2 separate regions of the Homo sapiens genome follow, and region 2 is linked to region 1. The links are contacts of gene promoters, found by promoter capture Hi-C in human tissues and cell types (Jung and others, 2019). All regions are on one chromosome and are shown on one strand. Each heading gives the region's core, a stretch centred on a gene start or on the middle of the fragment in contact. The rest is flanking DNA. Distances are from core to core; before and after follow the strand shown. Region 1 holds the start of KCNG4 (potassium voltage-gated channel modifier subfamily G member 4). Region 2 overlaps MBTPS1 (membrane bound transcription factor peptidase, site 1).

Region 1 (2,958 bases), core at 267-2,766:
TTGCGTGCTTGCCTCAGCCATCCTTGCTGTGTGACCTCCAGCCAGTTACTCCCCCTCTCTGGGCCCGCAGGCTTTTATGTGCAGAATGAAGGGGCCTCCAGCCGCAGTGGTTCATGCCTGTAATCCCAGCACTTTGCGAGGCAGAGGCAGGCAGATCATCTGAGGTCAGGAGTTCGAGACCAGCCTGGCCAATGAAACCCTGTATCTACTAAAAATACAAAAATTAGCTAGGCAAGGTGGCATGTACCTGTAGTCCCAGCTACTCGGGAGGCTGAGGCAGGAGAATCGCTTGAACCCGGGAGGCGGAGGCTGCAGTAAGCCGAGATTGCGCCATTGCACTCCAGCCTGGACAACAGAGCGAGACTCCATCTCAAAAAGAAAAAAACAAAAAAAAATGACGGGGCCTCTAATGCTGTCTCCATTTCAGACCTATATGAGGTGCTTGACTTAGTGTGAGTGTTTTAGATTTAGCCACTTCACATATTTAAAAAGTCCTTTTCATAATATTTCTCACCTTCAGATCCTGCAACCATTTCTTATGCTATTCATTCTAGCCAAAGCCATTTCCAAAGCATCTATAAGCTTACATTTTCAGATGCACTCCACTCCAATCAAGAGAAAAACTCGGCAGTGGAACGGAAATCAAAGTTCCTCTCAATTTCAGAGCCGGTTGGATTCCGGTGGATAGTGGAGAGTGAATCGTAACCTATTTCACACTCTTGCTCCCTACACAACATTCTGTTGCTCTGAATGCATTACTTTGCTCACAGGGAATGGCCAGAGGAGGATGAGGAGCCTGCAGAGAGAAGAGTATTTTGAAATCTGGGGAGCCCTTTGCAAGCTTCCTCATTTTCCCAGTGCAAAAACCAAGACCCAGCGAGCGGAAGTAACTTGTCCAAGGTCACACAGCAAATCCGAATCCAACCCAGCACTCTGTCCCCCAGCCTGGGGCTCCTTCCAGAACCTGAAAACTGCCCTTTCTGCATTCACTGAATAAACCCAATTTTGCCATCTACGGCTCTCCAAACAGCTGGCAAACAGCTCCTTCTGGAGCACGGGAAAGGAATTCACTCAAACCAGCACTTTTGCCAAGGATGTCTAACAGCGTCAACTTCCCCCTGGCCCCCGCCCACCCTACAGCAAGCAGTAACTCTTCCCCTCCAGTTTAACTCACCTTCTTGTCTCAGGGAGCCAGTTTCCAGCTGTTTCTCTGCCAGGCAAGGGGAGCCCATCTCTTGGTGCCCAGGGAAGGGACAGGTTTCTGGTGGAGATGAAGGGGAAGAAAAAAATCCCCAAAACAGCAGTTTCTAGCAGAGTCAGTTTCCAATCTTTCTTCCCGTGCCTCCTCCAGAAACCAGAAGTTCATTCATTCTGCATCTCTCTCTCCAGCAGCTGCAGGAGAGCCCTGGGGGATTGAGGTGGGATTTTTTTTTTTTTTTAAAGGACCCAGAAGTCCCTTTCCTTATGAGAGATGAGGGTCTGGGGGTTCTTGCTGGGAGGGAGCCAGGGCAGCTGTCCTGGTTGAGCAGCGGACTCTGCACTTCAAGTCCCACGGGGACAGCCAGTGTGGGGGGGTGTGGAATGGGAAGGGCTTAGAAATAATCTCTCCATCAGCCAGCAGCAGGAAGAAGCAGCAGCCGCTGCCACTCTGCCAACCGCCTAGGAGGCAAGGGGAGCTGTCCTCCCTCCTCTGGCATGGAGGAGCACAACTCGGGAGGAGCAGAGGGCAACTTGGGGCCGGAGGCATCTGCAGCTACCTGTCCCAGGCACCCCAGAGTCTCTCGGGGTATGCTGATGATGGTGACAGGCTCAAGTTGAAGCTGCAGGAGGAACTTTTTGCTGCTTTTAAGCAGCCCAGGCCTGGGACAGGTTCAGACAGAAGCCCAGGCTCTGAGCGCTGGGTGGGAGTCAGGGGGGCTGTGTTACAGAACAGCAATAGGAAGAGCTCCGAGCTTGGAATTCACACACATGCCTGGATCCTGGCTCCTATGTGAAAGGCTGGGTGACCTTGGCCAGGTGAGTTAGTGCTTCTGAGCCTCAATTGTCTTGTCTCTAAAACATGGGAATGAGAGAGGGTTCAGGGAAGGTCAGAACCATAAGTGCAAGCTCCTGTGCTGGTTGGATGGTTGGGTGGGTGAAAAGGAAGAGGCATCAGTCCAGGGCCTGGGTGTGAACTTGGACTCTGCACTGCCTGGCTGTGTGTTCTTGGTCAGTCACTTCCCCTCTCTGGGCCTTGGGTTTCTCAGTCAAATGAGGACAGTGAAACCAGCGATGGCTGCAATTGTAAAACCAGCATCTTGTAGTTGCTCACTACACGTTGACTGTTCTTCACTTTCTTAAGAGGTTTTGCAGCCCAGGCTCTTGGCTTCTGAATGTGTTATCTTCACTGCATTTGATAGTTGAGGCCCTGAGAAGAGGCTTGCTCAAGGTCATCTTGCTGGTTAGAACCATCACTTAGGCCGGGTGTGGTGGCTCACAGCTGTCATCCCAGAACTTTGGAGGCGGAGGCGGGCAGATCACAAGGTCAGGAGTTTGAGACCAGCCTGGCCAACGTACTGAAACCCTGTCTCTACTAAAAATACAAAAATTAGCTGGGCATGGTGGCGGGTGCCTGTAATCCCAGCTACTCGGGAGGCTGAGGCAGGAGAATTGCTTGAATCCGGGAGGCGGAGGTTGCAGTGAGCTGAGGTCGCGCCACTACACTCCAGCCTGGGTGACAAAGTGAGACTCTGTCTCAAAAAAAAAAAAAAAAAAAAAGAACCATCACTTAACAGACGCTTGAGTTTTGATGGGAGGATCCAGGAGTGAGGGAGATTAGAGGGTGAGCCTTCCACAGCTGCCTGCAAGGGGATGACAGGTGCTGCTGACCTAGGTGGGCTCTCTGTGGCCTTGGCAATGGGAACGAATCCAAGCAGAGAAGAGAACTGACTGAATGGAGGTCCATCTGGTATTGCGGTT
Region 2 (2,857 bases), core at 66-2,565, 140 kb before region 1:
AAAAATAAGATTTACGCACATACATTATAACATATACTATATTGTATCTAATCTAAAATCTGGCAAAAGAAAAATTATCTTAAAGCCCACAGCAGACGAGAGAAAACACAAAGACTAGTTTAAGTACCTAGACAGCTGTCTGCAGAGCTTTGAGGAAAAATGATCTATATGGGGCTGGGCGCGGTGGCTCACGCCTGTAATCCCAGCACTTTGGGAGGCTGACGTGGGCAGATTACGAGGTGAGGAGTTTGAGACCAGCCTGGCCAACATAGTGAAACCCCATCTCTACTAAAAATACAAAAAATTAGCTGGGTGTGGTGGTGGGCGCCTATAATCCTGGGAGGCTAAGGCAGGAGAATCACTTGAACCTGGGAGGCGGAGATTGCAGTAAGCAGAGATTGCACCACTGCACTCCTGCCTGGTGACAGAGCAAGCCTCCGTCTCAAAAAAAAAAAAAAAAAGATCTCTATGAATCACCTAACCACAAAGAATACATCATTCGAAACCAGATACCCGTGATATTTTTTTAAAAAGCAAATACCTACAGAAGTTTGAATACACAACAAAGAAATGTATATAATTTTTATCAAGTAGGAAAAAGAAATTCAGAGAACTGAATGCTCAGTTAGTGTTTCTTAAAACGAAAACAGTAACAAAATTCCAGAGTGGATTATGTGAGACTATTTGCTCAGTTCTTCACATCTGGTCACTCAAACTTTAGAACATAAACATTCTGCACCTCCCAGCTCCCCACCTTCACCAATTACAATGGCACCTGTTCCAAAGAATCAAGGTGTAGGCTGGGCACAGTGGCTCATGCCTATAATCCCAGCATTCTGGGAGGTCGAAGTGGATGGATTGCTTGAGCTCAGGAGTTTAAGACCAGCCTGGGCAACATGGTGAAACAAAAAATAAAAAAATTAGCTGGGCAGGCCGGGCACAGTGGCTCATGCCTGTAATCCCAACACTTTGGGAGGCCAATGCAGGAGGATCACCTGAGGTCAAGAGTGCAAGACCAGCCTGACCAACATGGAGAAACGCAGTCTCTACTAAAAAGACAAAATTAGCCGGGCATGGTGGCACATGCCTGTAATCCCAGCTACTCGGGAGGCTGAGGCAGGAGAATCGCTTGAACCTGGGAGGTGGAGGTTGCGGTGAGCTGAGATGGTGCCATTGCACTCCAGCCTGGGCAACAAGAGTGAATCTCCATCTCAAAAAAGAAAAAAGAAAAAACAAAAATAAAAAAATTAGCTGGGCACGGTGGCAGGTGCCTGTAGTCCCAGCTACTCAGGAGGCTGAAGTGGGAGACCACTTGTGCCTGGGAGGCCAAGGCTGCAATGAGCTGAGATGGCACCACTGCACTCCAGCCTGGGCGACAAGAGCAAAACTCTGTCTCCAAAAGAAAAAGAAAAGAAGGTGTAGGTAAATAATTCATGTCAATTTCCTTTTATCATATAAGCTTACTCTACTGGGAAAACAAACTTAAGCAAAGTTAACATTCATGTGCTGTGCACTCAACCCATTGGAAATTTACTACAGAAGGCCAGGCACGGTGGCTCATGCCTGTAATCCCAGCACTTTGGGAGGCCAAGGAGGGTGATCACTTGAGGTCAGGAGTTCAAGACCAGCCTGGCTAACATGCTGAAACCCCGTCTCTACTAAAAATACAAAAAAAAAAAAAAAAAAAGGCCTGGCACGATAGTTCATGCCTGTAGTCCCAACACTCTGGGAGGCCAAGGCAGGCGGATCACGAGGTCAGGAGCTCGAGACCAGCCTGGCCAATGTGGTGAAACCCCATCTCTACTAAAAATAGAAAAAATTAACTGGGAGTTGTGGCGGGTGCCTGTAGTCCCAGCTGCTCAGGAGGCTGAGGCAGGAGAACTGCTTGAACCTGGGAGGTGGAAGTTGCAGTGAACCGAGATCGTGCCATTGCACTCCAGCCTCAGCAACAGAGTGAGACTCCATCTCAAAAACAAAACAAAACAAAACAGAACAAATCAAAACAAAAAATTAGCCAGGGACGGTGGCAGTCACCTATAATCCCAGCTACTTGGGAGGCTGAGGCATGAGAATTGCTTGAATCCAGGAGGTGGAGGTTACAGTGAGCCGAGATCATGCCACTGCACTCCAGCCTGGGTGACAGAGTGAGACTCTGTCTCAAAAAAAAAAAAAAGAAAGAAATTTACTGTAGAAAAGAGGAACATGTTATTCAGCAATAGCTAATTTTATATTAAGTAAGCTTTAAAAAAATAGGATGGGAGTTCCTAATACTTAAGACAACATCATTACCATATTCCACAACTGTTGATGAGAATTCCACCTTCAAAGTCAGGTGGGAACAGCCAGGGCATGGGGCCTTTTCAAAAGATTTCTTTTCCAGTCTGTCGCCCAGATGTTTCTTCCCACAGAGCAAAACCACGAGCAGAAGCAGCCAGATGTTGACAAGCTTCATGGTCACAAGCGAATATGATCATAAAATTGCATATATTCAAATCACACTTTTTTCTTCTTGATTAAAAGTGAATTTTTGTTTCAGCTAAAAGCTGCAACATTACTAATCAGCCATCTTACAGTCTTGCCCAACATAAATAAAAGTTAAATCCCATGGCCTTTTGTGGTTCAGCCTGAAGAGAGGCTTTCATTTCTTTCTCCGCTTCTTCTCCATCTTGGAAATAAGGCTTCTCTCACTCAGGCCGTGACGACTGAGTCCTGTACTCCATTTGTACCACAGAACCAACGTCCAATGGGGTTGATCAATCAACCACTGTGAGCCAATCTATGAAACAAAAAACAGTGCACACAGACATTAGTAGCAAACTGACATAGCCAGGTATGATTTAGTTGTATTTATAATTTA

The links. The method cuts DNA at HindIII sites, captures the fragments that hold promoters and counts their contacts. A contact is called where the count stands out against the background at its distance.
Region 2: a contact is called between a fragment that was not itself captured here and the fragment with the promoter of KCNG4 in region 1, in 5 of the 25 tissues and cell types used here (IMR-90 fibroblasts, aorta, bladder and 2 more).

Annotation. Positions count from the first base shown.
Region 1 is chr16:84,238,496-84,241,453 of GRCh38, forward strand. KCNG4 (potassium voltage-gated channel modifier subfamily G member 4) reads right to left here and starts at 1,517. Exons shown (of 3, transcript NM_172347.3): 1 at 1,175-1,517. The HindIII fragment of the contact is 8,358 bases long and covers 1-2,958 here.
Region 2 is chr16:84,099,332-84,102,188 of GRCh38, forward strand. It overlaps MBTPS1 (membrane bound transcription factor peptidase, site 1), which reads right to left. Exons shown (of 23, transcript NM_003791.4): 2 at 2,290-2,776. The coding sequence starts at 2,452. Among named protein-coding and RNA genes, the nearest start is that of MBTPS1, 16 kb to the right of the region's middle. The HindIII fragment of the contact is 3,194 bases long and covers 1-2,857 here.